Linked DNA regions of Homo sapiens: regions 1, 2 and 3 are each linked to region 4. Evidence: promoter capture Hi-C in 16 types of primary human blood cells and fetal thymus (Javierre and others, 2016). All regions are on one chromosome and are shown on one strand. The core of a region is centred on a gene start or on the middle of the fragment in contact, and the rest is flanking DNA. Distances in the headings are between cores, read along the strand shown. Region 1 has its middle 160 kb from the start of TMEM229A. Region 2 has its middle 140 kb from the start of TMEM229A. Region 3 has its middle 120 kb from the start of TMEM229A. Region 4 holds the start of GPR37 (G protein-coupled receptor 37).

Region 1 (6,412 bases), core at 3,129-5,628, 570 kb before region 4:
TGTTTGCAAAGTGGGATAGCTTCAGGTTATTCATTTTCCTCTTAGATTCAGATTATTTATTTGCCTTAAAGAAAAAAGGAAAAGGAAAAGAAGTGCTGTAATGGGGGTTATAGTGCTGTACAGGGTTGTGTGGATAAATGAGATCACAAAAAGCAAAAGGGAGACCTCAATGGGTCAGGCAGCTCTTATTATCTATATCTATGACATTCATTAAACTAAGTTCCCCAAATCTTAGATGCTTGAGTGTCTGTAAATGTCTGATTCAATTATTTTAAAACTTTAATAAAAGTTGACATTTTCAAAAATAAGTTCTGAACCAATTTTCATACCTTGGAAATCATCACATTAGCTTGAGCTGTTAGGCTAACTAGTTTGGGGGCTGATCTAAATAAGAAAGTCCTTTTCTACCATCACTGAATGATGAAGACTGTAGCTCTATTAGAGCTCTTATAAAGTCTAGCCTCTACACTGCTGCTGAGCTAAATTTGTATTAGCAGGTACTCAGTCGAGCACATGCACATTGAACTTCTTAAAATGTCAGGCAAAGCTCAAGGGTATCTTCCAGCCCATGCACTCCTGCTCATGCTGCTACACTACAGACTCCAAGCAATGTGTGTAAACTGACAGTCACTTGAAGATGAGAAAATACAATGACAATTATTTGTACTAGAGGTTCAAATTTTATTTCAAAACAGAGTAAAAACATTACTCATTGCCTCAATGTATTTAATACAATGAAATGTAAAATATTCCTGTTATCCCTGCAAAGATAAAATAGCATCTTGCAACAGCACAGTAAGCATGTAAATAAGACTCTCCATTTCTTTGGAAGACAAAAATCTATGGAAATAAATTAAAACCTGAAAATGAAAATGTACTTTTAGCCTAAAGTTACCACTTGGTAGGTGAGGGAGATGTTAACATTGAGAAAAATCTCATTAAAGTTTATACATGTGACATTATGGCAAGGATGTTATATGAGCTTTCATTTTTAAAAAATTATTTTTATAGATTTAGAGGGTACAAGTGCAGTTTTGTTATATGGATATATTGTGTAATGGTGAAGTCAGAGCTACAAGAGTAACCATCACCCAAAGGTTGTACATTGTACCTATTAGGTAATCTTTAATCCTTCATATCCCGACTCTCCCACATTTCTGAGTCTCCAGTGTCTACTATTCCATTCTCTGTGTCCATGTGTACACATTCTTTAGCTTCTACTTATAAGTGAGAATATGTGGTATTTGACTTTCTGTGTAAGAGTAATTTCACTTAGGATAGTGGCCTCCAGTTCCACTCATACTGCTGCAAAAGAGATGGTTTCATTCATTTTTATGGCTGAGTAGTATTTGATGGTATTTGTATGTGTGTTTATCGTTTCTTTAACTAATCATCTGTTCATGGATGTTTAAGTTGATCCCATATGTTTGCTTTGGTAAATAGTGCTGAGACAAACATATGAGTGCAGATATCTTTGGTATAATGATTTGTTTTCCTCTGAGTAGATACCCAGTAGTGGGATTGCTAGATCAAATGGTAGTTCTATTTTTAGTTATTTAAGAAATCTCAATACTGTTTTCCATAGAGATTTTACTAATTTACATTTCCACCAAAAGGATGTAAGTGTTCTGTCTTATCCCCATCCTTGTCATCATTTGTTATTTTTTCACATTTTGATAATAGCCATACTGACTATTGTGAGATGGTATCTCATTGTGGTTTTGATTTGCATTTTTCTGATGATTAGTGATGTTGAGCATTTTTTATATGTTTGCTGACCATTTGTATGTTTTCTTTTGAAAGATGTCTGTTCAAATCTGTATTAGTCAGGGTTCTCTAAAGGGACAGAACTAATAGGCTATATATCTATATGTATGTGTGGGTATATATATGTATATATATAAATATATATAAAGGGGAGTTTATTAAGGAATAGTGACTCACACAATCACAAGACGAAGTCCCACAATAGGATGTCTACAAGCTGAGGAGCAGGGAAGCCAGTCCAAGTCCCAAAACCTCAAAAGTAGGGAAATTGACAGTGCAGTCTTCAATTTGTGGCCAAAAGCCTGAGAGCCCCTGGCAAACCACTGGTGTAAGTTCAAAAGTCCAGAAGCCAAAGAACTTGGAGTCTGATATTCAAGGGCAGGGAACATTCAGCACAGGAGAAAGATGAAGGCTGGAAGACTCAGTGAGTCAAGTCCTTCCACGTTCTTCTGCCTGCTTATTCAAGCCAAGCTGGCAGCTGCTGATTAGATGGTGCCCACCCAGATTGAGGGTGGGTCTACCTCTCCCAGTCCATGGACTCAAATGTTAATCTCCTTTGGCAACACCCTCATAGGCACACTCAGGAACAATACTTTGACATCCTTCAATCCAATCAAGTTGACACTCCATATTAACCATCACAATATCCTTTGCACACTTTTAATGGTGTTATTTATTTTCTTCTTGTTTGGGTTCCTTGTAGATTCTGGAAATTAGTGTTATGTTGACGCATAGTTTGCAAATATTTTTCTCCCATTTTGTAGGTGGTCTGTTCACTCTGTTGATAATTTCTTTTGCTGTGCAGAAGCTTTTCAGTTTAATTAAGTCCTATTTGTCTATTTTTGTTTTAGTTGCATTTGCTTTTGAGATCTTATTCATGAATTAATTGCCTAAACCAACATCCAGAAAAGTTTTCCCAGGTTTTCCTCTAGCATTCTATAGTTTCACTCAACAATGATTACCACTGCCTGATATAGCATAGAGAAGTATCTAAGCATGCACATGGTGGCAGTGGCGGCAAGTTGTCTTTTATAATATCCTTTTCCTCTTTCCTAAGAAAGGAAACCACAGTTTTTCACTGGGCACAGACCACCAAGAATGAAGACTGCGTTTTCTATCCTTCTTTATACTGGGTGTGGTCATGTAAGTAGAAATTTTATATGGCGGATTCTGAGAGTGCCTCTGATCTTTATTGTTCCTTTTCTCCATCCCATTACCTGAAACCTAATGTGATTGCTGGAACTCTGGCAGCAATGTTGCTCAACTGAGGCATGGTAGATCAGCATCTCTGTTGGGCTTGAGAATCTACCTTACTAGCCCAGGGCTGCCTATTATGAATTCCTTTATACAAAAGAATATACGCTTCTGGCCAGGCACGGTGGCTCATGCCTGTAATCCCAGCACTTTGGGAGGCCAAGGTGGGTGGATTATCTGAGGTCAGGAGTTCGAGATCAGTCTCACCAACGTGATGAAACCCCATCTCTACTAAAAATACAAAAATTAACCGGGCTTTGTGGCACATACCTATAATCTCAGATACTCGGGAGGCTGAGGCAGGAGAATTGCTTGAGTCCGGGAGGTGGAGGTTGCTGTGAGCCGAGATTGTGCCACTGCACTCTAGCCTGGCCGACAGAGCAAGACTCTATCTCAAAAACAAACAAACAAACAAAAAACAGAATATAAGCTTCTGTCTTGTCTATGGAACTATGATTTTGGTTTTCTGTCATATTCAATTATACAAAATCCTGATTGATGTATACATCTACTCATTTGAAGACAGAAATTATGTAACATTTTTACAGTCTAGTGGTGACAAATCAGAAGCTGTCAATTACTATGCTTGTCTTTTTTTTGTAATGTGTTTTGTTAGATTAATGTGAAGAGGCTTGCTACTTTTAAAATAAGTGACATATACCTAATAGAAGAAGAAAATATTAAATGTTTAAGATTAACATTTTATACTCTCTCAAATAAGTTGGCACATAGTGACACCTGTGCTGATAGAATGATCACAAAAGTAGAAAACTCTGCAGGTGAGGTATCTCCTTATATTGTAATGTTCAAGAAGTCCTTGTAAAGCAGAGCTGAATCTTGCACAAGGATTTTATTATCAAATTAGACCTCTGAGAAAATCACATATAGTTAGTATTATCCTTTAAGTCCTCTCCCAATTCTCATAAAATTAGAATGTATATAGCTTTGGGATACAGCCCTATTCAGATTTATGGGCACTCAAAACATTCTTCATTTGTATTTGTTGTAAAATTCCTAATTGGCAGTGAACTCCTGAGAAGAAAATTTTAAACTCTACTTTTCTACGGGCTTTACTTCTGATTTATATAATAAGCCTCTGAATCCCAATACACATTACTAGATTGTTTGTTTTGATGAAGATGAAACAAGATAGAGGACTTGCGTCTTAACCTACAGCTAGGTCTTAAAGTCGGCTTACGATGTGTTACGTCTTCAGGAAATGTCAGCTTCACTTGCTACTTATATGTTCTATAGGATTTAGTCAGACAACATCTTTCAAACACCATTGGTTAGTTTTCATACAAAATGCAAGTTTTATCAGGGTATATTTTTATTGTAAACTTTTCAAAATTATTTTTAATTATGTGGGCATTTTTTATGTCTAACTTTATTTGCAGGGTTTTAGTATGAATAATTCACCAAATATGTTACAGATAAAGAAAGTATATTGCTAACTATTTTTTAAATAAAATATGCTTGCACTAGTTTTGTATCTTGCCAGTGTTTCTAAGCTGCTGAACAAACTCAATTTGGCAAGACAGAAATGTTGCTGTACGCTGTGGATAAAATCTCAGGCATGGACTTAAAACTTTGTTTAGACTGACTTGGAAAATAAATATGATTCTTTCATTCTTTTAAAGATTTGACAGAGGGGAGCACTGAAGAAACTTTTAATTTTAAAATAATTTTTAGTTGTATCAATATATTGTGGGAAAACAATTTTAAAAATCGCATAGTGCTGAGACAAAAAAAGCATCAGTCTGCTTTTCCCTTCGAATCCCTAAGTGACTCTTCACAGGCAAAGATGTTCAATTCTTTGGTTGTTCCTTCTAATATTTAGTTCTATGTATGTAAATACCATTGACTATAGCTATTTGTTGATTCATCACTTTTAGATATTATCACTTGATTTCCTATTTTGACATACTAGAATTTGGAACCATTTAGACTTCTTATTTCCTTATCATTTCTAAATAAAAATTTGGTAAAACCCACACACATTTTTTCCTGTTACAATGTAAAGATGGTTTTCTTTGAGCAAAAATTCTCTAATTATATTTTGTTCCCTGTACTACTTTCTATATTTTGCTGGAGATGATAATCTTCTTATTTTTAATGCTTCTTTAATTATCTTTAAATAGTTAAATTTTATGCAGCCTCCAGGAAATCTGAAATTGTTTTCTATGCAGTCTAACCTCGAGATCTTTTATCAGTTGCATTTTTGTTCTGTAGAACCAGCTCCTGGAACACTTTGCCCTCTGCTACATCAGAGGGCTTTGCTTGCCAAGCTTGGTGAAGCAGTGGTATGACTTTGCTGCTATTCAGAGACTTCTATTTGACTCTTCTCTGTGTTGCATTCCTGGTTTCTTGATTCTCATGTCTTCCTCTTTACTGGTTTATTCCTGCATTTTGTTGAAGTACATGTTCTAATAGCTTCCTGAGAAATCGTGCATGGGAGGTAATTTTTTTGAAATTGTACACATTTTAAAATAGCTTTATTCTACCCTCATATTTGATCAATTGTCCTATGGCTCTATAATTCTTTCACAGCACTTTAAAGGGAAAGTTTGTTTAATTGTCTTCTAGCACTGCCAATGTTTGCGATGAGAAATCAAGTGCTATTTTTACTTCTAATCTTTATTAGTTGCTTTGTTTTTTCTTTTCTGGAAACTTACTATCTTCTCTTTATTTTGGGGAAGTAATATGTCAGTATCTTCTGTTCTATGCAACTTAAAAGAATTGAGATCATATAGGTCAATTTTTATTTGTTTCTATCAAAATTACCTGCCCAAAGAGTTAGGTAAAAGAAAGAGAATGGGAGGGCTAAGGCTGTTAGTTGGAATTCACTCACTTTCTAAACTTCACATCTTTTCTAAGTAGTTAGTGATAATTCTTCCTTCTCAGTTGCATTCAAAGAAGTTCCCCATCTGTCTTGTGCCATGCAAAAATCCCTGAAAAGATGAGTTGTGACCTTGACTGCTTACTAAGGTGTTCAGGGACCAAGCAGCTACTTTTATTTTGCAGTGAAGGGTTGCATACATCTACAACAGCTAAATTTTAGTGACATTATCAAGGCAGACTGTATTCATCCTAGTTGAGATTCAGTATAGATGACAAATTTCTTACAATGGGAAAATTTATAGGCTCTATTTTACTGTATTTTGTTTATTTTTAATTATAGTTTTTAAATTGTTGAAAGAATAGATATTAAATGCAGAAAACCTAACAAAGAGAAAATTTATTCATAATTCCAGAGATGATAAATATTCACAACTTGACATATGTTACATAGAATTTTGTTTTGTTTTTCATTTAAACAGTCTATAAGGAACATCTCCTCATATAAATAAATATTATTGCATGTATTGTACAATATTATTTTTAAGTGCCT
Region 2 (6,726 bases), core at 2,005-4,504, 600 kb before region 4:
ATAAATCTACCAACCAAAACCAGCAGTGAACCAAACAGATTCATAGCTGAATTCTATTAGATGTTCAAAGAAGAACTGGTACCAATCTTACTGAAACTATTCCAAAAAACCAAGGAGGAGGAATTCCTACCTAACTTATTCTACAAAACCAGTATGATGTTGATACCAAAATCTGGCCAGGACACAACAAAAAAAGAACATTACAGGCCAATATCTCTGACTAGCACAGATGCAAAATCCTCAACAAAATATTACCAAACCAAATCCAACAGTATGTCAAAAAGATAATTCATCATGATCAAGTGGGTCTTATTCCTGGAATGCAAGGATTGTTCAACACATGCAAAACAATAAATGTGGTTAGCCACATAAGCAGAATCAAAAGCAAAAACCATACGATCATTTCAATAGATTCAGAAAAAGCATTTGATAAAATTCAACATCTCTTCATGATGAAATCCCAAACAAACTAGGCATTGAATGAACATACCTCAAAATAACAAGAGCCATTTATGACAAACCCACAACCAACATCATACAGAATGGACAAAAGTTGAAAGAATTCCTCCTAAGAGCTAGAAAAAGACAAGGATGTCCACTCTTACTACTCCTATTTCACAAAGTACTGGTAGTCCTAGCCAGAGCAATCAGATGAGAGAAAGAAATACAAGGCATCCAAATAGGAAAAGAGGAAGTAAAATTATCTCTGTTTGCTGACAACATGATTCTATACCTAGGAATTCCTAGAGATTCCTTCAAAAGACTTCTAGACCTGATAAACAAATTCAGTAAAGTTTTGGGATACGAAATCAGTGAACAAAAATTAGTGGGATTTCTATACACCAATAATTTTCAAATCAAGAACAAAATCAAGAACCCAATTTCATTTACAATAGCCTCACACACAAAATACAATACTTAGGAATATATTTAACCAAGGAGGTGAAAGACCTTTACACAGAAAACCACAGAACATTGATGAAAGAAATTACAGATGACACAAACAAATGGAAAATCATTCCATGCTCATGGATAGAAAGGATCAATATTGTTAAAATGACCATAATGCCCAAAGCTGTCTATAGATTCAATGCAATTATTATCAAATTACCAGTGTGTTTTTTCACAGAATTAGAAAAAAAAATCCCAAAGTTCTTATGGAACCAAAAAGAGCCTGAATAGCCAACGCAATTCTAATCAAGCAGAGAAACAAACAAACAAACAACCCCCACCCCCCAAAAAAGCAAAAGCAAAAGCAAAGCCAAAAACAAACCAAAAACAACCACAAAAAAAACCAAAGCTGGAGCCATCTCTTTACCAGACCTTGGACTGTAGTATAAGGCTGTAGTAATCAGAACAGCATAGTACTGCTACAAAAATAGACACACAGATCAATGGAACAGAACAGAAAACCCAGATATAAAGCCACACACTTAACAACTAACTGATCTTCAAAAATGTTGACAAAGATAAGCAATGAGGAAAGGACTCCCTATTCAATAAATGGTGCTGGGAAACTGGCTAGTGATATGCAGAAGAATGAAATTGGACCCCTAGTTATTACTGTATACAAAAGTTAACTCAAGATGGATTTAAGACTTAAATGTAAGACTTAACTATAAAAATCCTAGAAGTAAACCTAGGAAAAACTCTTCTGGAAATTGGCCTATGCAAATCATTTATTGCTAAGACCTCAAAAGAAAATAGAACAAAAACAAAAATAGACAAATGGGACTTAATTAAACTAAAAACATTCTGCACAGCAAAAGAAACAACAGATTAAACAGACAGCCTACAGAATGAAAGAGTATAGCAAACTATTCATCCAACAGATTAATATCGAGAATCTATAAGGAACTTCAATAAACAAGAAAAGAAAAAAGTAACTTCATTGAAAAGTGACAAAGAACATGAACAGACATTTCTCTTGTATGTAGAAGACATACAAGCAGCTAACAAACATGTAAAAAGATGCTCAACATCTGGAATCAGCAGAGAAATGCAAATCAAAACTGCAATGAAATGTTTATCTTACTCTAGTCAAAATGGCATTATCAAAAAATCAAACAATAACAGATGTTGGTGAGGATGCAGAGAAAAGGGGTCATTTATACACTTGTGGGAATGTTAAGGAGTTCAACCCTTATGGGAAACAGTATGGAGATTTTGCAAAGAACTGAAAACAGAACTACCATTTGACCCAGAAATCCCACAACTGGGTATCTTCCCAAGGAAAATAAATCATGTTATCAAAAAGACACTTGCACTTGTATGTTTGTTGCAGTACTATTCATAATGGCGAAGTCATGGAATCAATCTAAGTGACCGACAACAGTGGATTAGATTTAAAAAATGTGGCACATATACACCGTAGAATACTACACAGCCATATAAAGAATGAAATTTTGCAGCAGCGTGGACATAGTTGGAGGCCACTGTGCTAAGTGAATTAACATTTAAACAGAAAATCAAATACTACACCATCTCACCTATAAGAGAGAGCCAAGCAATAAGTACACAGGGTTATACATATGAAAATGATAGATACAGGGAACTCCAAAATTGGGGAGAGAAGCCTGGGGGAAAGGGCTGAAAAACTACCTATTGGGTACAATGTTAAATATTTGGGTGATAGGTTCACTAGAAGCCAAAAACGCAGCATTATACAGTACACCCATGCCACAAACCTGCACAGCTATCCCCTGAATGTAAAAACAAAGAGAAAACTAAGTAAGCAAAGCATAAAAATGGGACCAATAATATCTTCTTTTTATTAGTTTTGATTGTTCTAAAGGTAAGAAGGGATGGCACATAAAGTGCCTATCAAATATTGCTCGGTTCATGATAAGAATAGTAATAATGGTAGTCACAAAAAGAGTCATAACTTCAACAACAATGATGATGATGACAACTAGAACAATTAAGATATTTATTATAGCTTTGAGAAGATTTTAGAATTTTATGAAGTCATTTTTCAAGTAGTGTAAGCTTTCTGTTTGGCAAAAGGTTTTGCTTCCTTTATGTTATAATAATGGATCTTTTGCCAGGCATGGTGGCTCACGACTGTATTTCCAGCTACTTGGGAGACTGAAGTGGGAGGATTGCTTGAGTCTGGGAGTTCAAGACCAGACTAGGCAACATAGTGAGACCCATATAAAAAAAAAGATTTTTCAATTCAAAGTTAATGTTACTAAACATATCAAAAATTGTTTAGTCTTATGCTCTGTGTGGACATGGAAAATAAAAGATGAATAGTGAATTTGTTTTCTTTTTAAAAAAGTTGTATAGACATCAAGACACTCCCACCCTTTTTTGAGTAGCTGTATCACTTTTGAGATTCTGCACGTATATTGAGAAGCTCAAAATAAAAAGCCTGGTTTATAGAATTTTTAGTGGTGAGGACCAAGTTAGAGCTGGCTAGAAGGTTCCCTGCCAAGAGAACTGCAGATGAGCGATTCCCTAGATTAGCACTGAAGTGGGAATAGGGGAAGTGTTTCCAACTGCCTAAGATAAAAAAGCTGAAGCTTAAACATTTTTAATGTTCAGAAAGCTGACACAAGATTACCAGTGCTATACAAATTAAATTATTTTCTTATTTTCTTACTCCTGTGCTTGCCCCCAATGTCTACTCCAAAGGACCAGCAGAAATCTTGCAATCTGGGATAGAAGGAGTGAAACTAAAATGGAAAAAGAGTAATCTGATTACTCCCACCCTTCCTGACTCCTACATATCCCATCTAGGATTTTAAACCAAGATTAAAGTTTTTCAATTGTATGGTCATGGGCATTTAAATCATTAAACAAGTCTTTATTTTGTGGTGTGGAATGACTGTATACAGTTTGTTTTGCCTAGCAGGGAAGAGAAAAGTCAGTGCATCTGCCTGAGTTTTCATTTAGAGAGGTAAGAGAAGAATTGGTTCTACTACTAAACATATCTTTATTCTCTTTCCAAATAATACAAGGACTCCAGAAGATTGAATTCCCCAGTGGACAAGTCTTTGTTATGAATATTTTAATTTTATTATATTGCCTGCTCTTTTGTAGTTGGATGGAGTTACATGACTAATTCTGACCAATGGGCTATGATTGGAAGTGGTGACATATGTACTTCTATGTATATTCCCATGTGTTTTCTTTCCCAACCATGACATCTTGAGAGACTATATGTTTCAGTTGTACAGCTGCATGAAGACGGAACTCTATTAGCCTTGGTACCACTGTGACTTTTTGGAGCAGATTCTCTTAGTGACTGTTGTTGGTTATGTAGTTTGAGTGAAAAAAAGACCTCGTTATGTTAAGCCACTGAGCTTTCGGGGTTGATGTATTGCCCTAATATAACTAGCCTGTTCTGAATAACAAATACACAAATATATCATTTTTTTACGCTCTTCATTCTTTCTTGCATCTCAGATTTTCCATTTAGGGTTACTTTCCTTTCCTCTGAAGTACATCTATTATCTCCTTTGATGTATGTTTATTGGTAGTAGAGTAGTTCCCCTTTATTCACAGGGCATGTTCCAAGACCTCCAGTGGATGCCTGAAACCACAAATAGAACTGAGCCCTAGATATGCTATGTTTTTCCCTATACTTGAATATTTATAATAAAGCTTATAAATTAGACACAGTAAAAGATTAACAACAATAATAAAATAGAACAATTATCAGCAATTTACTGTCATAAAAGTTATGTGAATGTGGCCTCTGTCTCTCAAAACGTGTTATTGTACCGTCTGTACCCGCCCTTCTTCTTGTAATGACGTGAGATGAAATGACTATGTGATTGAGATGAATTGATGAAACAGGATGGAAAGAGGTTTCATCACACCACCTAGAATGGCATGCAATTAAAAAATTGTAAATAGTTTGTTTCTGGAATTTTCCATTTAATATTTTCTGACCATGATTCACTGTGGGTGATGGAAGCCGTGGAAAGTGAAACACTGGATAAGAGGACTACTCTACATATTTTGTTGATCTTTACATATGTAAAACCTAGTTGACTAAACTGAGAGTGCTTAAATTCCCACAGTGTTTGTGTTTGCTTTTGCTAGAGCCAGGTGATGTTCCCCGTCTTATGCTACTCCAGCCCCTTCTACCATCACTGATTCAATCCTAAAATTTTAGGTTGTGTGTTTTCAACTAATTAACACTTTTATATCAGCATTTGTTTCAGGGTAACTCCACCTGTTATGTGTTCTCAAAGTTTACCTAGAGTTTACAAAATCTTTCAGCACTGCATCTTTGTCACATTAGTGGGTAAAGTATGAGGTCCCAGCCCTTCTCCCTAACCACTTTATCTTTTTGCTCTGCATATTTGAGGAACATTACACATGACTTCTCTCTGGGCCTCACGGGAGAAAAGAGTGTCTTAAAAATTTATAAAGCTTTTGAAGTTCTAAAACCTTGGAATTGGAAGATTAGAAATTTTTACTACCTTGTGTAATTTTATTTTGATATGTTAAGTTTCTTGATTACTTCCTTCTTGAAAAATTTATAACCTCCTACATGGAGGAGAACTCAGAGATCATTTTGTAAAATAATTTCAATTTAAAGATGAGGAAGTGTGAGCTTGTTGTGTTAATGTGGCTTGCCAAGATCACACAGAGGGAAACACAGGCTTGCTATGTTTTACCTGAGAGAAAGTTAGAGAGACTGATTAAATTTAGGCTTTAGACTATTTATCACTGAGTAGCAGCCTCTTTACCTCAATACTTAGTTGATTAAAATCCAAAAGTTTCCAGTAGCCTTTAAATATCAAGGAATGGACCACTGAGCTAAACAAACGCTGGAAACAAGTTTCAGAGAGTGTTTCCATTTTATATAATTAGTTGTTTCAAAAACTAAGGGAATCAACTTTTAGACTCCCATGCTAGTAGTGACTATGACAGTGTCAGCAGGGGGCAGCCAGCTCCTAAAATTTGGAAACATGCTTCCTTCTTGTCTTTTCTGTTTAAGTTTCCAAATCAGGCTTTATAAAATCAAGTTTCATAAAACACTTTATGAAATAGTGATACTGCTTGGTTAAATATAAGAAGAACATTCTGCTTTAACTTCAGCTATTCCAAGGCCAACTGGTACACTGAAAGTCAATTCTGACACTAACCACCCAGAGATAGTGTCAAACCAGACAAATTTAAGGCCAGGGTCCCCAACAAGACCACCCCCACTTTAGATGCCAGACACAAGTTAAGGGGGTTCTCAGGTTACCTACACTTCTGATTAACTGGGTGTAAAGTTGGGGATTCCAATGACTCCCTTCAGATGTAATAATTCACAGGAATGACTCAGAGAACTCAGGAAAGTGCTGTATTTTTTTATCTTTTTTGTAAAATTATACTTTAAGTTCTAGGGTACATGTGCACAATGTGCATGTTTGTTACATAGGTATACATGTGCCATGTTGGTTTGCTGCACCCATCAACTCATCATTTATATTAGGTATTTCTCCTAATGCTAATCCTTCCCCCAGCCCCCACCCCCCAACAGGCCCTGGTGTGTGAGTGATGTTCCCCTCCTTTTGTCCCTGTGTTCTCATTGTTCAACTCCCACTTACGAGCGAGAACGTGCAGTGTTTGGTTTTCTCTTCTTGTGTTACTCTGCTGAGAATAATGGTTTCCAGTTTCATCCATGTCCCTGCAAAGGACATGAACTCATCCCTTTTCATGGCTGCATAGTATTCCATGGTGTATACATGACACATTTTCTTTATCCAGTCTATAATTGAT
Region 3 (6,660 bases), core at 706-3,205, 610 kb before region 4:
TCCACTCCCTTTTAACTTTGATTAAGGATAATATCCTATACTCAGTGTTAGTGGTTCTCTCTACGAGCACTTACTGTATCCTGTCACAGCAAGTTAACTTATTAATTCTGTCTCCTTATCTTGAACACTGTACATAGAGATTCTAGACACAAGTAGTCTGGAATTCACTATTCTTTTAAGTAATAAAAATGTTGTTAAGAACACGTGTTTATATGTTGACCCATTTTTATGATTCTTTATTCAGAAGTTTACTTTTTAAAAAAAAATTATTCTTAAGAGCAGCTTTAGGTTCACAGACAAATTAAGAGGAAAGTACAGAGATTTTTCCAGAACACCTCTACCCCTATACGTGCAAAGCCTCTCCCATGATCAATATCCCCCACTAGAGTGGTAAATTTGTTATACTTGATGAACTACATTGACACATATTAATGTCCTACAATGACACATCATCCAAAGTCCATGTTTATAATAGAGTTCATTCTTGGTGGTGTACATTCTATGGATTGGAAACTATGTGTAATGACATATACTGATCATTATAGTATCATACAGAGTAATTTCATTGTCCTAAAGGATCCTCTATGCTCTATATATTAATTTCTCTGCCATCCAAACCCCCTGGCAACCACTGATCTTTTTATTGTTTACTTGGTTTTGCATTTTCTAGAATGTCATATAGTTGGAATTAACAGTTTGTAGCCTTTTCAGATTGGCTTATTTCACTTAGTAATATACGTTGAAGTTTCCTACTATACATTAAGTTTATTCATGACTTGATAGCTTGTTTCTTTGTAGCACTCAATAGTATTTCACTGTTTGTATATACTACAGTTTATTAATCCATTCACCTACTGGAGGATATCTTGGTTGCTTCCAAGTTTTTGAAAATAAAACTGCTATAAGCCTCCATGTGCAGGTTTCTGTATGGACATAAGTTTCCAATTTCTTTGGGTAAATACCAAGGAGCACGATTGCATTGGTTTTGTCAGAAACTGACAAACTGTTTTCCAAAGTGGCTGTAGCATTTTGCATTCTCACCAGCAATGGGTGAGTTCCCGTTGCTCCACATCCTCATCAGCATTTGCTATTGTCAGTGTTCTAGATTTTGGCCATTCTCATAGATGTATAGTAGTATCTACTCATACTCATAGGTGTATAGTATCTCGTTTTAATTTATGTTTCCTTGATTACATATGATGTGGAATGTCTTTTCATATGCTTATTTGGCATCTGTATACTTTCATTGGTGATGTGTCTATTAAGGCAGGGGTGTCCAATCTTTTGGCTTACCTGGGTCACATTGGAAGAAGAAGAACTGTCTTGGGCCACACATAAAATACACTAACAAGATAGTTAATGAGCTAAAAAAAATCACACAAAAAAATCTCATAACGTTTTAAGAAAGTTTACTAATTTGCATTGTGCTGCATTCAAAGCCATCCTTGGCCACGGGCTGAACAAGCTTGTATTAACTTGGTGTAAAAGTTATTGGGTTTTTTTCCATTAAAAGTAAGTAATGGCAAAAACTGCAATTACTTTTTCACCAACCTAATATTAAGATATTTGGCCATTTTCCAATTGAGTTATTTTTTTTAATTGTCAAGTTTTCCTTTAGTAAGATATGCCTTTTGCAAATGTTTTCTCCCAGTCTGTGACTTGTTTTCTCACTATCTTGATGTTTTCTTTTGCAGAGCAGTTTTAAAAATGTTACTCAAGTCCAGCTTATCAATTAGTGCTTTCATGGATCATGCATTTGGTGTTGTTTCTAAAAGTTATCACCATACCAAGGTCATCTAGGTTTTCCCCTCTGTTATCTTCTAGGAGTTTCATAGTTTTGCATTTTACATTTAAATCGATGATACATTTTGGGTTAATTTTTGCAAGGAGTGTAAAATCTGTATCTAGATTCATTTTGTTTCCTGTGGATGCCCAGTTGTTTCAGCACCACATGCTGAAAAGTCTTTCTTTGCTCCACTGTATTGCTTTTGGTCCTTTGTTGAAGATTAGTTTGCTGTATTTAATGTGGATCTATTCCTAGATTCTCAATTCAGTCCCATTTATCTGTCTGTTCTTTCACCAATACCATACTGTCTTGATTATTGTTTCATAGTAAGCGTTAAAGTCAGGTTGTGCTTCCTTACTTTTAGAATAATAATCACTCATTTGTGAAACAAAGCTGCCAAGTTGCTGTCATGGAGATTGAGAACTTCTCTCCTAATGTCAGTAGTGGCTAGAGTATCACTTTTTTATTATTGCCCCTTAATGTGTCTTACTTTCTAGTTGGTAGGAGGCCTATAGCTAAGTAGTTGTTACAATAAACAGAAGTTTGCTTAAATAACATTAAGGAGGATTTGAGGAGGACAATTATGAATACAGGGACTTTTATGAGATCAAACTGCAAGAAGTACTGTGCCTCACATGAATGGGAAAGGGAAAAGTCATCAAGCTTCTCTCTGTTTTTCTGTTTCTCTGACACACACACACACACACACACACAAACACACACATACAAGTCCTTAATCCCAGATGTACATCTGCTTTATTCTTTTCTTTTTATAGATTGGCTACTCATGCCTAATCCTCAAGTCCAAGTTCATCTGGTCCTTTGGTTGAAGTTTTCATGCTTGCTAATGCAATCTCTGTGACGCTACTTTTAGATTCCAAGAAGAAAGAATCATCTGGTACTGGATCTGAGATACATGCTGAATCCAGAGCCTGTGAGTCTATAGTGAAAAGCAGTCTGAATTCTGACACAGATGACCAGTGTAAGGTCTTGAATATGTCACTTCATGTCCCTGGGTTGCAGTTTCAAGATCAAGTCAGGAGAGGGAGACAGCAAAATTATTGGTAGAGTTCTGAGCCTGACAGGCCAGAGTGTAGGAGCAGGCAGGGACCAACAGGAAGGTGATTCTCTATCTCTATCCCTGCTCAGAACTTTTCAGAACTTCACTTTTGGCATCATCTTCAGAGACTGTACTAGACACACAAGATAAATAATTTGATTTTTTTATGTGTACTTTTTTCCCCACTGCCTATCCTTTTAAATTTCACTCACTTTGTTTTCTTTTCCTGTCTCCTTCATCTGCCCTTTAAACAACAGTCTGAGGAGTTACAAAGATAGAGCCTGGTGCATGCATCAGAGACCATAAGGAAAGGCTGGAGGGCAGGAAGAGGAGTCATAAGGCTGTTCCAAGCCTGGAAGTCTGACTCACAGTACATGGGAGTCAGCCTCATTTTTCATTTCTATATTAGCTATTATTAGGCTTTTAGAAATTGGCAAATGTCAGTTTTGACTAACTCTGTTTTGTTATTGCTGTGATAATATAACTGTACCTCATTTCTAAACCATGAAAATGGAGTTTTCTAAAATAACTGATATGAGTTATTAATCAAAATGAATAATATAAGAAATACTTCCTACTAATTTTAAAGATATGGGAACTCAAGCTGATAATATGGTACTTTGGACTGAGTACTGTTAATGACAGTTATTAGAATTCTGGTTGCTAAGAAGTAAAGGCTGGCCTTAGTCTCAGGGACCAACCCATCTGTATATATTCTTTGATATGCTTATTAAAAAATCCATTTCATTCTTTTATGATCATGCTCTATACTTATTGCCCTGAGAAAGAATCAACCTCAGGGGTCCAAGCTTTGTGGGAAGAAGTGATTTCAAAAGTGGAACTTACCAAAGGGTCAGGGAATAACAGAAGCATTTGCATTTGTGTCTTGGCTCTTGAGTGCCTAAGTCCACAAATTTGAGGCCCTTTCAAAATCTGGCTTATGTGAATCTTTTTAGAACATATGCCCACTTGAGTTCAACTCCATTCAACTCTACTTTCTGGTCTGTTCTTTCTGTTCTGTTCTATTGATGTTCTCATGTTTATATATCCAATGAAGAGCCTCTGGGAGGGAAGGGAAATTAAATGGTAGGGATTTTTAAAGAGGAGTGTGCAGTCCTTTTCCATATCCCTTTGTAACATGTAGACAAGGCCAAAGGAGCCCAGTAAAAATCCCTTTGATTAAACAAAGAACACAGGAGCCCTAGGCTTGACTTCTCTTCAAACTCCCTGGATCTGTCCTATACCTGGGTCTGTTTTTCTGTCCAGTTCATTTCGGTTGGACCCTGCTTGGCTCCACTTGTGCTGTATGTAGCTCCCCCATTTTTCTTATTATGTTATGGTTATTTCTGAGTTCCATACCTCTTGCTTGATTCCATACCTCCAGCTTAAGCTCCCTCTTCCTGAGTGTTCTCCTGGGTCCCTTGCCTGGGTATGATGAGTTTGGGGCTGAAGCTGCCAGAACCTTGCTGTATTTAGTAAATGCACATTTTCTTTCTTTCATTTTAATTTTTGTATTTTTTTAATTTGTGGTTTTGCCTTTATTTACCAAGTAGCTAGATGTTCTAATTTAATCCAATTTAGGTCTACATTCTTAAATGTATAGTCTAAAAGCACATATACCTCAGAACAGAAATGTGTGCTTAATGTCTACGAACCTTCTGAAAATGTTTCTTCTAAAAAAAAATCCTGACTGGGCATTGTGGCTCATGTTTGCAATCACAGAATGTTGGGAGGCCAAAATGGGAGGATCACTTGAGCCCAGGAGTTTGAAACCAACCTGGGCAATGTAGTGAGACCATGTCTCAAAAAAAATGTCCTATGGAATTTAATGTTATCATATAAACATGTGTTTTGTTTTTTTCTCAGAATAAATATCAATACTACCTCTCCCAAACTTATAGCTTGACAATTTATTACTCAATTAATGATGCAAAGAAGCTCATGTCCTAGTTTATAATATGTTCTCATTATAGTACACTAATGTAGACTCAATTACACTGCATTCTATAATACGTTAAATTATGTGATAATGAGACTTCTATACCTTATCCTGTCAAGCATTTATAAGCTATTTATATTTAGATATTAACATTTATATACTATAGGAGTTTATATACAGTGCTAATATTCAAAATCTAGGCGGCAATATAATTATTGTTTTCGTATTTTAATTTTAAAGTAGGTTATACTAATTAATAGATGATGTTATCTGCTGCTTTGTGAGTAAAAAACAGAGAAAACTGGATCATGCATCCTTTTTGCTATTGCATTTATCCGTGTAGAATGTGAAATCAGCTTTACCGTTTCATATTTATTCATTTATTTCAAAAATTTTTAAAAAACTAGCAATCTGGCCAAAGAAATTGAAGCAAGTTTGTTCCTCACAAGGACTGGATTACACTAAATAGAGCTTATTATGCTGTTCAGTCTGCCCATGGCCGTATCATTCACAGCGTTGACTTTCCAATAGTTATAATGATTTGAACTTTTCTATAGTGAGAATACAAATTGCCTCTTTGAAACACTAGAGGGTGGTATTTGTAAAGCCATTTAGGACTATGGTGGTGCTGACCTGAATTTATTCTGTGAAATTATTTGTTCAAATTGTCTTTGAATGAGGACAATGCAAATACATGTTTTTTAAAATTCCTATGAGATGAAGGACTGTAAACTGTCATTTAAGTGCAATTAGTTTGACTTTCAAAAAACTGAATCTATCTGTATTAATCTAGTACTTTTTTCAGCACAGAAAAAAAAAAAGATTGCTTTTTGTTTTTCCTTTGCTTGGCACTTTGATGTGATAGGCTTTGGCTTATAGCAAGGCAAGCTTGTTTTTCACTAGAGAACTTTGTAGAAACATTTGCTTCCATTAGTGTTTCAATACAGCAGCATGAGTATCATCAGATTATTAAATAAAGGCCATTTCATAAGCGGGCTGCCATCTGTTTTGTCTACCTGTCCTGGAGAGTTGAATATGTAAAACCACATACACATAAAACCAAAGAAAATGAGTCATAAAATTGCTGATCATAGGATATAGGCCATTGACTTTATATTCAAAACACTTAAATATATTTAAAGCTTTTTGCTTCTAAACATTTACAAATAATTTAAAAAGTATTAACTATACTAAACAAAGTTTTTGTGTTTTATTTTTAACTACCCAAGATATAAATTTCAGATTTTGTTAGCACAGAAAAAATAATGTAAAACCATTTTTGACTATAGTTTTTCTTCCCTGGATTTTGAGCCTTCTTTAAGTCTAGGGGATACAGTTTTCTCTCAGTATTGTAAGTAGCCTTCCAGGGCTGCCCCTGAAAAGAAGTATAAAACGACTACAAAGCACTTTGTGAATATGGATGCTATCCAAAGGCTAAACGAAAGTCTATAGCAGAAAAACATAATAAAGATTATACTCCAAATGGTAGGCACATTATTTTAATAATTTAATAAAACCATAACGAATAAGTAAACATATTACTTCTCTAATTTACTGATGGTCAGATAACAGCTACAACAGGAATGGATGATTTAGGAATTCATGAATTATTCTTCTGTCAAGCCTTTAATTCCTGAAACTAAATATTTAAGTCATGCTTTAGGCTTTCTCTCTTGGTGTTATCTGAAAAGACTCTTCCTTCTGGCCTAAACACTTAAATAGAATATATTTGTGCAATCCAAACACATTTTTCATGATTAATGGCCTCAGTTTGTTAGTAATAATGTAAAAATTGCTATTTAAATACACAATTAAATGTGCTTAGTTTGTTCTTTGGGTTGGAGAGTTGTATGTTACTATGAGGGAACTACCATT
Region 4 (6,696 bases), core at 2,261-4,760:
TTCAAGAACTTTGGTGTTTTTATTTTTCTTTCCCCAATTTCCTTTTTCTGTCCTATTGTTTTTCCCTCTAGTGTATACAGATTTCTACATGTCCAGTACATTTCCAGTGAGATAAGCCAATACACTTCTCTGTCATTGAGGTACCTCTCTTGTCCGCTTTATACTTTTGTCTCTTTCTTGCATAAGTCAATTTCTTCTGATAAAAAAAAAAAAAGAAAAAAAGAAATTTGAAACTGACCTTGAAGAGGCAGTTTGGTAAATAGACACATATTCTCTAACATGAGTTCAACTGGCTCCTTCACAATTCAAAAATGAATTGTCTACCAAACAAAGTAGATGTTTCAGAGATACGCCAAGCTTGGCAACAGGAGAAATCATGGACGCTGCTAAAGCAGCAACAGCTGATTTCATAGTCATGGAATGATCCTGCACCTGATCCCTGTCAAGATAACAGAGGGTCTTATTTACTGTCTCCAGCTTTGGTCCGTCTAAGTAGGTACTGTTTTCTGTTTACTTATCCCCCAGCTTTAGGCCTGGAACAATGTTGAACATAGTGTCACAGGCCCTGGTGCCAGACAGGATCAGGGGCTGCGGAATATTTACAGTTTCCCTTCTTCTGCTTCCATAAATGAAATGGACAGTCTGAATGGAGAAAATCAAGGGCCAGCTGGCTAAAAACACAACTGGCAGCAAAACAGTTGGGCCCCTTCCAAGAGCTGGTGTTTAAAGAGAGGCCATTTAAAGAGCAAAGTCCACCTACCACAATAGTGGGCCAGGACACTAGCTGTAGGATGAAACAATGCAATTTCACTCAAAATGATTTTTGTTTCCAAAGTTTGGAAACTAGATGTGCCCCCTTCTTCCCAAGAAATTTTCTAGTCTTAGGGTCAATCCCTTAAAATAGCCAATCTTTCCACCCATAACAAATAACAAATGTATAACTTTGAGAATGTTAAACAAATTATGTGCCACGCTGGCCAAAGTCTTATTTTTGCTTAAGTTCACGCAAACACACAAAAATAAAATTAAGAAACCGAGATGGGAAAAGACAGGAACAAAAAATGACTTAAGAATTTAGATGGGATAGCATGGAAGACAGTCAGACACTTAAACTAATTTGAGAGGTTATTAATATATCATGAGGCCAACTGACAAACACAATTTTCTTTCTTTCTTTCTTTCAATAAAATGTTACTCCAACTTTGCTGTTTAAGAAAAAATGCAATAATCTTCTTGGGGGAAAACTCACATTGAAGCACTTGGTAACTAGTACACAAATGCTAATGTTTTTTTTTTTTTCCTTGTAGGCTCTGATGATGACAACCTTAGGCTGGCCATTTACTTAACCCTAAAATCTCTGACAAGTGCCAAATCAGAAATACGCATAACACCATATTCAGGGAGATAGATTTATACTCCAAACAATTCTGTATATTGTGAGATCATCCTTTTTTTACAGCCCAGGAGCAGATGAATTTGAAGGTGATTTCGCGAAGCTGCCTCTTTTTGTATATACATACATGCATAAATGATTGGAAAGAGAAATGAAAGAGGGCCCCAGATAAAAAGGAAAGGCGTTCAGCTAGATAGGTGCATCCAGCAGCAGTTCTCTGATGCTATAATCCCGAAAACAGATAAAGCCACTAGCTTGAGAGCCCCTGGAAGGCATTACCTCTATATAGGGCACGATCTTGCAGGAGAAGTCCTCCAGCAGCCACTTCTTGGTCAGCTCGTGGAAGATGACCAGCGGAAGGCAGAAGAAGATGATGAGAAAGTCCCAGAAGGCCAGGTTGGCCAAGAGGGAGTTGGAGATGCTCCGCATGTAGTAGTTGTGGCACACGATGCACATCACCGCCAGGTTGCCAATGATGCCGGTCCCGAAGATCACCACGGACAGACACATGACCGCGTAGGCTCCATAGGACTCCTGGGTCAGCGGGTAGAAGGGGTTCTTCAGTCTCACACGCCGGTTCGTGCTGTTTCCCCGGCGGGGACCCCCAGGCTCATGGATTCCTTCACCCAAGGATCCATTCTGGGCCAGCGCCCGGCCCGGGAGTGCAATTGTCCACCCTTCGTGCCCCGCCAGTCCATTGGCCGTCTTGGACAGGGGCTTGTGGTGGGAACCCTGGAGTTTCCCGGCTCTCCTTGGCCAGTAAAAAAGATCGCTGGCTCCGGGGACTGTCTTCACACTCTGCTCCTGGCTACGCCCGGAAATGCCAGCGCCTCTGGGACCCTTCTCTTCCTCCTCTGAGATCTGAAGGAAGAGCTGGAGGGCCGTGGGGTTCCCTCTCCCCAAAGTTTCAGAAGGCTCCTGACCCCGAGCACCTTTCCACCTCCAGGGGCCAGGTGGCCTGGTTGGAGGTCCCGGGGGTCCGGCTGCCGACGCCTCCGCCCCTCTGCCTGCAGCCGGGTCACGGCCCGGGGCCGCCGGCAGGTCCCAGGAGGGTCCCGCAAGAAACGCTGCCCCCTGCTCCTCCCTGGGTGCTCGGGCTCGCAGAACGTCTCTTGCAGAATTTCCCGGTCCCCAGGCGTCCCTGCCGCGGCGCTGGATCACTGTAGGTGCACAGCTCTCCCCCAGACAAGTTTCGTTTCTGGACGCAGGGGCGACCCCGAGGGCAGAAGAGGCAGACACCTTGAGCAGTAGCAGAAGCAGTAGCCGCGACATGCGGGCGAGAAGCGCGCCCGGGGCTCGCATGGCTTGGTGAGGGCACACCCGGCAGCCGCAGCTCCTGCTTAGTTAGGATCGACACCTGCTGCCGAAGTTGCTGCTGAGAGTTAGGCACATGTCACATACTCACCCCCGCCCGGGTAGCGGGGAACCGGAGATTAGGGTGATAGCGGAAGATCGGTCTTGGGGGTCACACACACGCCCCCTATAATCCTTCCTCCTTTGGCATCTTGTGCATTTCTCAGCCAAGTTGAGTCCCAGCAAGGTATGCCCTCCAAGGTTCCTAGAGGGAATAGGCTACTCCCGGTGGCTGACCTTGAAAAGTTGCAATCAACACCTGACTGTTGATTACTGTTGAGACTCGGGGGAGCCCAGACGAAGCCCCACACTCCTCACTGCCTTTGGGTGGGGGTGGTGGCCTTCTTGGTAACAGTTGCTCTGCCTATTTACATCCTTTCGACAGCGTTTGATCCAGTTGCAAGCCGAGGTCTCTAGAGGAAAAGAAAAACAAGTCCCCCTCCCCCAGACGACTCGCAGTCACAACCCCGCTCCCAGCTCGCTGGAAACACGTTGCAAACAGTCCGAAGCAGCGCTGATGCGCCGGCGAAACTCTTGCCCCACCTAACCCCAGCGACTTGCGAGCCTACTGCTGCCGAGGAGAAGCGGGATTCCAACCCCGCGGCCACTGCCAAAGTTGCTTCTCCTCCAGCTCAAAGTTGACGACGGGGCGAAGCAGGCTGCTGGACGGCGTGCCGCCGCAGAGAAGGAAATCGTGGGGAGAAGGGGGAGAAGAGGGCGCCGCTCGTCGGTGGACAGTGCCGCTAGCCGCGGGAGCTAGTCACTGCCACAGCGGGCTCAGCCCGGACGGGAAGGGTGGTGCCTGGAACCGCCGCGGGCCAGGCAGTGCGCGGCCGGGAAGGGGAGGTGGCCCGGCCTCGCCCCCGCGCTCCAGCCGCTGCGCGCGCCCGCGAAGCTCGACTCTCGGCTCGTTGCCTCCTCCCACTCCTTCGCCTCCTCCTCGGAGAGATACTGGTTTGTGGGGAGACGGGATCCCCTGGTGGTTCACCACTCACTAAACCCACACACGTTTCATTCAAGCCATTTGTAGCGGCTTCCACTCGGAGGAGCTGGGAGGGAACAAGGGCGGAGGCGCGGAGCCTGCGCGGCTCGAGGCTAGGGATGGGCGGGACAGGTTAATTCCCCAGCTGTCGAAACCAGCCTGACAGGTCCCCGAGCCCGGGCTAGGGGCGGGTGCGGGGCGGGAGTGGGGGGTGGGGGTGGGAACGGGAATATGAGAGCGGTCGGGGGAGGGAAGAGAGGAGGGTAGCAGGGGAGTGAGCAGCAGGGTCCCCTCCAATCTGTTGCGGCTGATGCGCATGCCCAGGTCTCAGCTCTGGGGGGCGAGGGGCGGGGCGGGGGAGGGGCGGACGGGGGTTGGGCCGCGGGGAGTAAGAAGGTGAAACCTCACCTCCTCAGGTATTCCCTAGAGATAGGAGAGAATGGGAGCTCAGAGGTGTCAGTCATAGAGAATTACCAGTTCCAGGATTGAGATGCAGAGCGAGAAAGCTCAGGATGCACCATTACCTTTAACACTGAGTTGGGAAGCATCCTACCATGGGTTACTTCGTACCACCCAGAGCATAGTGAGGTAGTTGTATTTGATGAAGTAGTGGGAAATGACTGGAGGCAGAAAATTACTCGAACAGCACTCCCAGCACGGCTGTCCATGCCTTTCCAACCTTTCTACTATATCCCACAACCCTGTCAAAACTGTCAGGGCATAGCTAATAAAATAGACAAATTAATGAAGAGAAAATGATAGAGGAAGAAATAAACACATTCTGAATTTTTTTTTTAAACAGAGTCTTGCTGTGTCGCCCAGGCTGGAGTGCAGTGGTGCGATCTCGACTCACTGCAACCTCCGCCTCCCCGGGTTCAAGCGATTCTCCTGCCTCAGCCTCCCAAGTAGCTGAGACTACAGGCACCCGCCACCATGCCCGGCTAATTTTTTTTGTATTTTTAGCAGAGACGGGGTTTCACTATGTTGGCCAGGCTGGTCTTGAGCTCCTGACCTCGTGATCCGCCCGCCTCGGCCTCCCAAAGCGCTGGCATTACAGGCGTGAGCCATCACACCCGGCCTGAATTTTTTTAAAGCAACACATCTAGAGAGGCAGGAGAAAACACAATGGAACATATGATACCAATTGTGGTAAATAGAATAATGCCCCCCCAAAAAAATGTCCGAATCCTAATTCCTAATACCTGTGAGTATGTTACCTTACAGAGCAAAAGGGATTTTGCCAATGCAATTCAGCTAAGACTCTTGAGATGGGGAGAGTATCGTGATTATCCAGGTGGGTACACTATAATCACAAGAGCCCTTACAAATGAGAGGCAGGAGGGTCAGAGTAAAAACAAACACAAGCCAAGTGATGTGGGCAATCTCTGGAAGCTAGAATGGGCATAAAAAAGGATCTACTAGCCCATTTGAGACTTCTGACCTCCATAACTGTAAGATAATGAATGTGTGTTGTTTTAAGCCACAAAATTTATGGTTATTTGTTGCAGTAGCAATAGTAAACTAATACACCATTAAATCTAAAAATGGAGACAACAGGAATAATTGTATAGAAAAACATAAACTACCAAAAATAGTTCAAGAAGAAAATTTTCAGAAACTGTAATCGAACTATAACATTAAAGAAATCAAATCATTCATCAAGATCTACCCAGAGGAAAGTGCTAGACCTTAGCATATCCTGCGGAATAAATATACATTTATACAAAATGTTTTAAAGCTACTCAGTTCATTTTGTGAAGGCAGAATAACCTTAATGTCAAAATCAGACAAAGCCAGAAATAGGAAAAAATATAAGCTAATAGCACACATTCATTTGTACATTAATTCATTCATTTATATACACTAACTCATTCTCTCAAATTCACTACTTCATTAAAGAAATATTCTGCTCAAGTTACTTAGGTCAGAGCAGTGAATAAAATAAAGTTCTGCTCTCACTGAATTTATATTTTCTTGTATACTCATAAAAAGGACAAACTAGGCTTATGTGTATCACCAAGACTGAATCTCAGAAACATAAATGTAAGGGAAAAACGTAGAACTTGATGTGTTAACTATATAATGCTACCATTTGTGTAGCTCTTAAAATGCACATAAAACAATTTGATAATCATACATGGTGTATCATATAAAATATGTGAATGGAATAAATACAGATCAACTTCAGAATATTAGTCACCTCAGGAAATAGAAGAATGGTCATGGGATGGAAGGAAGCTTCTACTCTAACTGTAGTATCTTGTTTCTTTAAAAAAAATTTAGAAGAGGGAAATCTGGATTAATAATGAAACAGGAAAAATAAGTTGCCAAAATGAAACAGTGATATAGCTTCCCTTCTCATCTCATTAGCTTAGAGTTTAAGTTACACATGTAAGATATGTTTCTATCCTTTTTACTCTAGACCACATAAATGTGTCACTAATCTCTATCACTACACAGAAAGGAATCAAAGCTAAACAGGGAAAAATCCCTTTACCTGCTCCCTTAGAAGCTCCATTGTAATTCACACATGCTTGGCCCAGAGTTGGGCATCATTCTTAAAGTGGTGGGCTATAGAACTCAGGTACCATGCTTGGAGAGTGGCTGGGGAAAGGCCTGAAGGAGGAGCTACCTGTGTTTGTCTGTGGTGGTATCTCATTCATGAGTGGTCCCTTCCTTAACCTGAACAATGATGCCTACCTACTTGGATGGTTGCCAAGTTCTGGTTCTCTAACTTATTCGGACCATGAATAAAACCAAAGAGCTCCAGCTACTCTATTGGAGCCCAGGTCAATATCAATTATTTATAAAATTGTGTTTCCAAAAATATCAATTATTTATATTTTTGGAAACACAATTTTCTCATCTGTATAATAAGGATACTAATACCTACTCTCAGCTCTGCTCACCCAAGTTGTTATGTGGATTAGGTAGATATGAAAAGACTACATAAAGTATAAAATATTTA

What was found. Contacts are between HindIII fragments. The CHiCAGO score rates a contact against its expected background, and 5 or more counts as called.
Region 1: a contact is called between a fragment that was not itself captured here and the fragment with the promoter of GPR37 in region 4, in 1 of 17 cell types (endothelial precursors). The highest score is 5.9, in endothelial precursors.
Region 2: a contact is called between a fragment that was not itself captured here and the fragment with the promoter of GPR37 in region 4, in 3 of 17 cell types (endothelial precursors, megakaryocytes and erythroblasts). The highest score is 8.5, in endothelial precursors.
Region 3: a fragment that was not itself captured here is called in contact with the fragment with the promoter of GPR37 in region 4 in 4 of 17 cell types (endothelial precursors, M0 macrophages, megakaryocytes and 1 more); the score reaches 13.7 in endothelial precursors.

Annotation. Positions count from the first base shown.
Region 1 is chr7:124,191,407-124,197,818 of GRCh38, forward strand. No RefSeq gene overlaps it. Among named protein-coding and RNA genes, the nearest start is that of TMEM229A, 160 kb to the left of the region's middle. The HindIII fragment of the contact is 1,858 bases long and covers 3,450-5,307 here.
Region 2 is chr7:124,165,378-124,172,103 of GRCh38, forward strand. No RefSeq gene overlaps it. Among named protein-coding and RNA genes, the nearest start is that of TMEM229A, 140 kb to the left of the region's middle. The HindIII fragment of the contact is 536 bases long and covers 2,987-3,522 here.
Region 3 is chr7:124,150,220-124,156,879 of GRCh38, forward strand. No RefSeq gene overlaps it. Among named protein-coding and RNA genes, the nearest start is that of TMEM229A, 120 kb to the left of the region's middle. The HindIII fragment of the contact is 984 bases long and covers 1,464-2,447 here.
Region 4 is chr7:124,762,282-124,768,977 of GRCh38, forward strand. GPR37 (G protein-coupled receptor 37) reads right to left here and starts at 3,511. Exons shown (of 2, transcript NM_005302.5): 1 at 1,673-3,511. The coding sequence starts at 2,695. RefSeq lists a silencer at 3,523-3,652. The HindIII fragment of the contact is 5,609 bases long and covers 356-5,964 here.